2 separate regions of the Homo sapiens genome follow, and region 1 is linked to region 2. The links are contacts of gene promoters, found by promoter capture Hi-C in blood cells and fetal thymus (Javierre and others, 2016). All regions are on one chromosome and are shown on one strand. The core of a region is centred on a gene start or on the middle of the fragment in contact, and the rest is flanking DNA. Distances in the headings are between cores, read along the strand shown. Region 1 overlaps TIAL1 (TIA1 cytotoxic granule associated RNA binding protein like 1). Region 2 holds the start of GRK5-AS1 (GRK5 antisense RNA 1).

Evidence for each region. Contacts are between HindIII fragments. The CHiCAGO score rates a contact against its expected background, and 5 or more counts as called.
Region 1: a contact is called between a fragment that was not itself captured here and the fragment with the promoter of GRK5-AS1 in region 2, in 1 of 17 cell types (naive CD8 T cells). The highest score is 5.8, in naive CD8 T cells.

Annotation. Positions count from the first base shown.
Region 1 is chr10:119,571,191-119,576,533 of GRCh38, forward strand. It overlaps TIAL1 (TIA1 cytotoxic granule associated RNA binding protein like 1), which reads right to left. Exons shown (of 12, transcript NM_003252.4): 12 at 2,275-4,601. The coding sequence ends at 4,475. Among named protein-coding and RNA genes, the nearest start is that of TIAL1, 23 kb to the right of the region's middle. The HindIII fragment of the contact is 6,967 bases long and covers 1-5,343 here.
Region 2 is chr10:119,337,795-119,342,474 of GRCh38, forward strand. It overlaps GRK5-AS1 (GRK5 antisense RNA 1), which reads right to left and starts at 1,526. Exons shown (of 2, transcript XR_946357.4): 1 at 1-1,526. All of the region lies in intron 2 of GRK5 (G protein-coupled receptor kinase 5), which reads left to right. RefSeq lists enhancers at 2,906-3,499, 3,500-4,092. The HindIII fragment of the contact is 14,954 bases long and covers 1-4,680 here.

The DNA.
Region 1 (5,343 bases), core at 1,097-3,596, 230 kb after region 2:
GTGTGAGCCACTGTGCCTGGCCAATTACGAGAATATTTAATTACTAAACATAGTAGAATACACATTTAAGCAAAACCCTCATTTGGACCACTTAAGAGTGAAGGCTTACAAAAACTAGTAAAAGTCTAAAGGAAATAGGTTTTGCATCTTTCCAATACGTAATAAAATTGCAAAGTCAATGTTTATAATGTATTAAGTAGAAGCTCAAATGCTTTTAATAGGGAAAATTTAATTTGGACATACTAGTAAAGTATCTAAAACATTTATTAAATTATTTTTGTCAAGTATCATCTTTACTCATAGATACTACCAAAGAGCAACCTAGACAGTAAAATTAGTTCCCGTATCTGAGGACTCCAAATTAATAAATTTTAATATATTAATATTAAACAGAGCATGCATTTTTAGAAGGATGCAAATTTCTACTCCTTCATATCCAGAGATTAAATTCAGCAAAGCTAATGGACTTGTTAACACTTACACAGAACATGGAAATAGGTCCTGACTACATACATACTCCACATAACTACTGAAAACTTAAAACCCAGTTGCTTATTTCATGGCAACCTGGTAGAATAATTATGTAATAAACGACAATAAGAAAAAGCCACTTATCATATAGTCTAGTCTTTATTGAAAGACTTACTTCAACTGTTGTTTACAGCTTTGGCTTAAGTTGGCCATTTTAGCCTCTCACTGCCAGCAGACATAAAAATCAAGTGGGAATGGCACGGGGGTTGGGAGTGAAAATACTAGTAGAGAAATTATGAGAACAAAGAATATGGCAGTCAGTCAGAAACACATCACCAAAATAAATCTCAAAATAATTATGAAATAAAAAACATTTCCTTGCATGCCCAAAAAGTCTCTGCTGATGTTTTTGATGAACGGGGTGGGGAGCAACGATTCTTAGGCTTAAGTTGGATCAAGATAGCATTGGGTCATGTTATAAAATCATCTGTTAGCTCAACAGCCATACTTTTAATTAATTCATTTATTTTTTGAGATGGAGTCTCGCTCTGTCGCCCAGGCTGGAGTGCAGTGGCGCATTTTCAGCTCACTGCAACCTCCACCTCCCAGGTTCAATTCTCCTGCCTCAGCCTCCCAAGTCACTGGGACTACCAGCGCCCACCAGCACGCCCAGCTAATTTTTTTGTTATTTTTAGTAGAGATGGGGTTTCACCATGTTGGCTGGGCTGGTCTCAAACTCCTGACCTTAGGTGATCCACTACCCGCCTCAGCTTCCCAAAGTGCTGGGATTACAGGTGTGAACCACCATGCCCGGCAACAGTTGCACTTTTTTTTTTTTTGAGACGGAGTCTTGCTCTATTTCCCAGGGTGGAGTGCAATAGCACAATCTTGGCTCAGGGCAACCTCCGCCTCCTGGGTTCAAGAGATTCTCCTGCCTCAGCCTCCTGAGTAGTTGAGACTACAGGCACGGGCCACCACGCTTAATTTTGTATTTTTAGTGGAGACAGGGTTTCATCATGTTGGTCAGGCTGAGCCACTGCGCCCGGCCCAGTTGTAGTTTTTAAATGGTACATTTCATTTGGATAAGTAGCTTTGTATTTTAAAAACCACTTAATGGCCAGGTGCAGTGGCTCACGCCTGTAATCCCAGCACCTTGGGAGGCCGAGGTGGGTGGATCACGAGGTCAGGAGATTGAGACCATCCTGGCCAACATGGTGAAACCCTGTCTCTACTAAAAATACAAAAATTTACTAGACATGGTGGCATGCATCTGTAGTCCAGCTACTCGGGAGGCTGAGGCAGGAGAATAGCTTGAACCCAGGAGGCGGAGGTTGCGGTGAGCCGAGATTGCACCACTGCACTCCAGCCTGGCGACAGGGCAAGACTCCGTCTCAAAAAAAAAAAAAAAAAAAAGCCAGACACCGTGGCTCACGCTTGTAGTCCCAGCACTTTGGGAGACTGAGGCGGGCGGATCACGAGGTGAGGAGATCGAGACCATCCTGGCCAACATGGTGAAACCCCCATCTCTACTAAAAACACAAAAAAATTAGCTGGGCATGGTGGCACGTGACTGTAATCCCAGCTACTCAGGAGGCTGAGGCAGGAGAATCGCTTGAATCTGGGAAGCAGAGGTTGCGGTGAGCCAAGTTCTCATCACTACATGTACTCCAGCCTGGCGACAGAGCAAGACTCCATCTAAAAAAAAAAAAAAAAAAAAACCACTTAATATGAAATAACTTCCATTAACTGATCATGAAATTTTGCCCTCTTTCAGATTAAGATGAAGGACACTTCAGTCACATGTTTACTGTGGCAATATAACTAGTCTGGATAATTTTATTAAATCATAGAATATACAGTCAGGAAACACTACAGCTATATTTAGCTGTTAGTTATCTCAATAAGCTACTTAATTTACTGGCAGACCAAAACAGGCATACTAAGCATTTTTATCAATTAAAAAAAGTCTTCAGTTGTTCAAGTTTCACATATACTCATAAAATTTTTAACTCGGGGGCACAGTTAACATAATTTATTGAGTGTTCTCCCTATAAAATATAAATTAACTTTTCCAAAAACATTCCTCAAAGATACTATAAACAAAAGAAATAAGGGTATATTTTATAACAGAAGAGTGTAATAGATGACCATTATGGTAAAACTAAGGTGCCATAAAAAATTTGGCCCAGCTATGAATTTCAGACCCTATGAATTTTTATGTTGAATACATTTGGCTATATTGCTAAGTGGGAAAAGGAGGAAAGTAATACCAAAATTATTGTGACCACCAATTTATAAAATCATTATTTTAAAGCTAATCGTAAAACTTCAAATGTTTAGAAAACAGTAATTTGTGGGTACTAATCGCATCTTACTATGTAACTGTAAAAGGCTATTTTCTCTTTGGTGCCCAGGCCAGCATTTTGAATACATTGCCAAAACATTTGCACTCCCTAGCTCTGACAATTCAAATACATAGGATTTTATCTATTTTACATTCCTGTTTGATAGAAATTTGAGGCAAATTTTACCCACACAGCCTGAAAAATACCTTGAAAGCAAACCTCGGTCTTCTGCATCTTCCAATTGATTCCTTTACAAACTCTGCACACATACAACTTAAGCCTCTGCTCAGGCTTATTATACCATGCACACTGCCCACAAGGAAAAAAATTAATTGAAAATAAAAGCCACAACTCTGTGTACTATTTAAACTGAATATCCAATTATAAATTGGTACATTGAAGTGTCTAAATAAGATGTTTTTAGCAATCTTGTTAAAAAAATTCTTGGGCAAAATATATCTTAATTTTTAAAAACACCCCAAGATTTTTAAAAAACACTTGTACTATACAACTTATAGTAACCTTGAAATTGGTTTACAAGGTTTTAATCAAGGTATTTACATACCAAGTAATGTAAAGCAAAAAAAAAAAAAAAAAAAAACAAAAACAAAAAACTAATTCCCAATGACATTTTAGAACATACTAATGCATCAAAGATTGTATGAAATTAAAATTAAGGCTTTTTCTGCACAATTTGTGTAATTTTAATTTTACATAGTAGCCAACCTTGGAAATGTCAGTCTTAACATTCTGATCAATCCACTGCATTCAATGCAGCGGAGTGTGTTAAGTGTTACTTCAAATAATTACATTGCTGCTACTTCTATGTTGAAGCATGCTTTTTAAACACTGTAGTTATTGAATATTTACAATATGTATCATTTAAACTTCATGTAAAAGCACAAGTATGACTGTCTGACTTCAATACAAACACCATACTTGGATTTCCCCCCAAAATGAAATGTAAAATACTACAATTTTAATAATCGACACTTTTGGAAGTTTTAAAAATATGTCTTAACGTGGACCACCAACATTTGCTCAAGTAACTCAAACAATGCTGTTCCTTTTTTAGGGTGCAAAACTTCAGTCTGGCTTCAGTTTCTTTAGGCATAGAGAAAGAAAATATTTCCTCCAAAGCGACTCCAAAATCACGCATTTCTTCTGAATATCACACTTTTTCTCTGCTGACTTCAAATGTGGTCCACCTCAGGGAAGGGGAGGGGAGTATCAGGATTCAGGATGAACTTATATGTGATTCCCAGGTTTTCACGATCCTCCCTTTTTTGCTCTTTTAAAAACACAGTGAGTTAAAATACTGAACAGCAAGATAAAAATGGAATAGTATCTAAGAATCAAAATGTATTAGCCATTTTTCCTATTATATCAAAATTTGTAGTCAGAATTGTCTTTATTGACTTTATTTTAGTTTTTGTACATAAAGAAAAATCATGTTCATATCCATCATGAACAAAAACTTAAAAAGGCAGAACTAGAAGACACGTGTCCTTCACCAAAGCAAATCTGTGCTAAAGGTTCCAAACATTTCAATTTTTAAAATAAATATTTTCATTTTCCGATGTCTACTTTCATGTCTTCAGAGTGTCACAGGAAATCGAAGCCTATCATGAATTACAATTTTTTTTTAGAGTCCCGGCTCACTGTGTTTGGTAACTTGCCATACCATATCCGGCTTGGTTAGGAGGAGGTATTACAGGGGGAGGAGCTTGTCCTTGGGGAGGCTGAGCACCAAATCCACCCATCCAAGCAGCAGAAGGTGATTGACTTGGAAGAAAAAGAAAAAATCTTCAGCAAACACAAGAAAAAAAAAATCACATATGTATTTACACAAAAATCAAGCAGAGCCTAATCACAGAATAGAAAACCAGAAATCAACACACCTACAACAAATAGAAAGATCAAAGAAATAAATGATATATGTGTAGAATACATATTCCAGTATTAGTCTTTGATATTTTTAAGATAACCACAACTTAACACACTGATGTCTGAGGAGTATCTGCAAACTAATTTTTTAAAAATTGTGAATGATTCAACACATCATCTATTACATAAGAAATTTTAAAAACAAGTTCATGTTGGAAACAGTCTCAAAGGAAGAAATCTGAAAATAAAGCTATGGGCTGGCCCTGGGCAGGGGAATTACAAAGGAGGAAACCACTCTATCAACAAAAGAAAAAAAAAAAAAAAAAAGGCCAGTTACTTTGTATCACACAAACCTCAGATTTCTCACACATACCACATAGGCATAAAACCATCAAACTTTTGAATATATCTGGACAAAGATCTTTTACATGCAAAAATAAATAAAAGTGTATCAGAAATGTAAATCAAATTCTACCAACTGCTTACAGGGATCATAGGACACACTAAATGTTACCCCAATCCCCCCTTTCCACCTAGGTAATGAGAAGTAATTTCTTAGCCTCATAAATCATATTTTGTTAGATTAGTTTCTATAATGCTCATAATGCCAAATAGCTCAATGTATATAATTAAAATAGAT
Region 2 (4,680 bases), core at 276-2,775:
ATATTTTTAGTAGAGACGGGGTTTCACCAGGTTGCCAGGCTGGTTTTGAACTCCTGATCTCAGGAGATCCTCCTGCCTTGGCCTCCCATAGTATTGGGAGTACAGGCGTGAGCCACCACACCTGGCCAAGTTTCCCCTTTTTCATGAGGACACCACTCATATTGGATTAGGGCCCACCCTAATGACCTCATTTTAACTTGATTATCTCTGTAGCAACGCTCTTTCCAAATAAGGTCACGTTCTGAGGTAATGGGGATTAGGACTTCAGTGTATCTTCTTTAGGGGATCCAGTTGAACCCATAACATATTCACGTGCTCATGTGGTCTGGTGGAGTTAAAGGTAGAGGGGTCAGGGATCCTGATTCCCACCGGGTCTGAGGGTGGACACTCCTTCTCTCCTGAGCCTGGTGGGGAGTTAACCACTGCAGTCCCAGGCTGCTCACTTCCCCAGTGGACCACAGGAATGTCTGTGGGAGGAGCAATTGTTTTCCAGGCCATGTTGCAGCTTTTTCAATCTCCCTGTTTGTTATTGGTTAAGTCATAGTAATTGGTAAATTATTTTGCTAAAAAACACAGAAAATTATAAGGAAAGAAAGTCACCGCTAATTTTACATCTCAGACAGAGCCATAGTTAACGCCTTCATGTAATTTCTTCTAGCTTTTTTCCCCATACATATACATGTGGTTTTGTTTCTTACCTCTTTTCTTAACATAGTATCAAAAATGTTTTCCCTTGTCATTAAAATCTTCATAAATGTGATGTACATTTTTCCATTTGATGCATATTTAGTGAGTGTCAGGCATGGTGGATACATCAGTGAGCAAAGTGCAAAACTTCCCATCTCATGGGCTGCCCTCCTGCAGGTGAAATGACATACTGGGCCATTGGGAGCTCACCTAGTACCCTCAACCCAGCATCCACCCAGGCCCCCGGTCTCTCCCAACCTATGGCTTACTTCCTGTTGGTGAATTCTTCCTTTAAGCGATCTTGAAAATAAGCCCTTGCTTATTTTCAAATGAATAAATGTGAACCCAGAATAAATGTGATTTGTAAAGTTCTCATAACTATCACATGTATATATTCTACTATTTGGGTTTTTTCCACCTAGTTTTTGCCATTACAATTAATGTTCAAATGAACATCTTTGTACTTCATTGTGACATTTTGATCTATGGCTCAAAGTAAGAAAGTCCACTGTCTTTTTGAAGGCCAGAACACAGCAGCCTGTACAGTGCTGTTTGCTTCCTCTGGAATGTTCTTTTCATTTCCAGCTTTGCACTTGCATCCACAGACACCATTAACCTGAAATGTGATGGGGATGGACAAAGTGGATGATGTTTGGCGAGCGGCCTCTGCCTGGCTTGCCTGCCTCGGTTCACTGCAGTCAGCAGGTGTGAGAAGGATTTTTCTGTCTATTTTAAGGCCCCTCACTGAAAATGGGAAAAACAAGCTCGTTTGTGCGGGGGACCTCAAGCCAACACAAGAGCCCAGCCACCCTGCAGCAGCCTGAGCGTGACAGCGTTCTGCCCCATAAAGAGATGCTAGGAAAACACTTTTAATGGTCTCTGCCTAGACTCTGTTTACGGAATTTATTTGCCAGAGCTCAGGCCATTCAGCAGTACCTTGGCAGCAGGGCCCAGCAAAGCTGCAACTCCTGTCTCCCCTCCACGTCTGCCTGGGTGTATTAAACCCCCTTGTTCTGAACACCCCAGAGCTAGTACCCGAAAGGCAGGAGTGGGGGGTTGCAGGGAAGAAAAGCCATGGGTTGTAGGATATTTGGGGCCAATATAAACTTCCAAATTCAAAAACAAAAACTAGCTAGGCTCGGTGGCTCACTCCTATAATCCCAGCACTTTGGGAGGCAGAGGCATGTGGATCGCTTGAGCTCAGAGTTCAAGATCAGCCTGGGCAACATGGCGAAACCTAGTCTCTACTAAAAATACAAAAAATTAGTCAGGCTTGGCAGTGTGAGCCTGTAGTTCCAGCTACTTGGGAGGTTGAGGCAGGAGAAATTGCATGAGCCAGGGAGGCAGAGGTTGCAGTGAGCTGTGATCACACCATTGCACTCCAACCTGGGCGATGGGAGTGAAACTCTGTCTCTATTAAACAAAAACAAAACCAACAACCAAAGAACAACACAAAATTACCCTCCAAAGAGCTAGGGGCATGAGCTACTGTTGGCTGCTAGCTGTGGCCGTTTCCAGCCAGCAGTAGAAAGGAAGATGTAAAATCCTGAAGCATTTTGAGTACTGCTTTGTTTTTTTTCTTTCCTGTTTGACGATTGATGCTGAACCATCTTTAAAGTGTGGTTTTTTTGTTTGTTTGTTTGTTTTGTTTTGTTTTGTTTTTTGAGACAGAGTCTCACTCCGTCACCCATTCTGGAGTGCAGTGATGCAGTCTCACTCACTGCAACCCCCGCCTCCTGGGTTCAAATGATTCTCATGCCTCAGCCTCCCAAGTAGCTGGGATTACAGGTGTGCGCCACCACGCCCAGCTAAATTTTGTATTTTTAATAGAGACAGGGCTTTGCCATATTGGCCAGGCTGGTCTTGAACTCTTGGCCTCAAGTAATCTGCCCACCTCAGCCTCCCAAAGTGGCTGGGATTACAGGTGTCAGCCACCATGCCCAGCCCCAAAACTTACTTTTAATTCCTTTTCTCATTACAAAAATAATATATGTCAATGGTTGCAATTTCCAAAACAATTTTAAAAGGGGAAAATAAAAACTGCCAATGAGATAAGGATAAACACTGTTAACACTTTGGTCTGTTGCCCTTTTGTAGTTTGTTCTGCTTCTAGGGAGAGAATTGTACCAGCCTCGACTATCATCTTCCTTGCCCAGACATCAGATATCATTTAAAATGGAAACCTGTGGGTTGTAGAATCCCCCTTGGACTGGGAGGCAGAAGACCCAGTTTCTTGTGTTACCACTTGGTCCTGTGGCCTTGGGAAAGCCACTTAACCTTGATTTGCTCGTCTTTAAAATGGGGACTCAGTATTCCTCACCTTAGCAGATGGAGTGGCCAAAGGTGTTTCTGGCAGAGAGTGCTTTGCAAAGTGCTGTGCAAATTGCTGGCCAGTTTTGATGTGGGTGTGTGAGCCTTTGGTTGGACAAATGGCCAGAGTAGTTTTCCTGTCTTCTTGGGGGAACTGTGACCCTTTCTCGTAAAGCTGTTCTGTCTCTGATCCTGGTGAACATCACCAGCTTCCTCTAGCTGCCCAGAGCTGCCCCTCCCCTCTGCCCTGCCGTGTGGCACCTGGCCCAGTGCAGTGTCCAGTCCCTCTCCAGGTCCCGATGCCTCGGCCTCCACAGTATCTCCTAGTCTGCCCCTCTCGCCCCATCTCCACCATTTCCACTTGATCCTTGTCCCTGCCTGAACTCCTGTGTCAGCTCCTTGCTCCCTCCAGGCGCACCTACTTCCAACCAAGCTCCATGCAGCAGCCAGGAGGCTCTTTCTGAAATGTCAGTCTGCTCTCGCCACCACCTGCTTCAGTAGCTTTCCACTGCTGTCAGGACAGAGTCCAGAGGTCTTGCTGAAGCTGACCAGGCCCGGCCTCTCCGCCCTTGCTGACTGCTTCAGCTTCACCCCTGCCGCTCATCTCCTGACTTAGCCATTCCTTCATGTTTCTTCTTTTCTCCAGGCCTTTGCCTGGGCTGTTCCCTCTGCTGGATACACTTCCCTAACCCTGCTTGGTAATCAACTCAACCTTAGTCCCCTGCTTCATAGGTCACCTCCTCCAGGAAGCCCTCCCTGGTGACCTCACCTAGTCAGGGTTTGCTCCCCACCCTCATGCTGCCACTGGCCCCACTGTGGTTGTCTGATGACTCACCTTTGTCTTCTGTTTGGCTGTGGGCTCTGTGAGAGTAGAGCCTGGGTCTGCCTGACTGTGTTTTGCCAGCACCCAGCATGAGTGTCTACCCTGTACCAGGCACTTGTAGAATCTTGTTTAGATATTTTGTTCTCCCCTGGAGATGGAAAAACACTCAATCTTCCCAAGTGTTAGACTGATTGCTGATGGGTCTTATTTTTCTCTCTGAGTTCTTTTAAGAGTCCTGGAAATGTGGACTGAGAACAGCTGTCGCATGTCAGTTCCGAAGTAGCCGCTTTTATCAGAAACGGTTTAGAGAGAGATTCCTAGTTGCACCTCCCGCCAAGGGCAGTGACCCCACTTTTCTCTCCCCTTGCAGGCCCCTATCCGACCTCAATGGGAGGCGTGGGAGAGTTATGGGGAGTACATCCCACCGGCACAGCTGTCATGTCAGCCCTGTCTGGCTGCCGGAGTTCGACTGGTCAGGCGAGATGGGCACAGGCACGGCTCTGCTAAAGGCCTTGGCTGAGCCCAGCTTGGGGCAGAGCAAGCCACTGAGAATGGCTTTGCCAGAAGACTCCGTCATCAGGCTTGGGTGTCCACAGCCTTGGAGTGCTGAACAGCTGGAACATCCTGAGGCATGTGGCGGGTCAGTTGGGACAAAGCCATTGAGCTGCTAAACCAAACCGGTGCTGCTGGATTGGGACGGAGACAGCAGTGAGGAACATGAGCTCCAGTGTCAGAGGGACCTGGTTTTCATCCAGGCTCTATTCCTTACTGGTTGTGACTTTGAGCAAGTGATTAGATTTCCCTGAACCTCAGTTTCCTTATCTGCAAAATGGGAACTGGAGTGTTGCAAGGATTGAGTG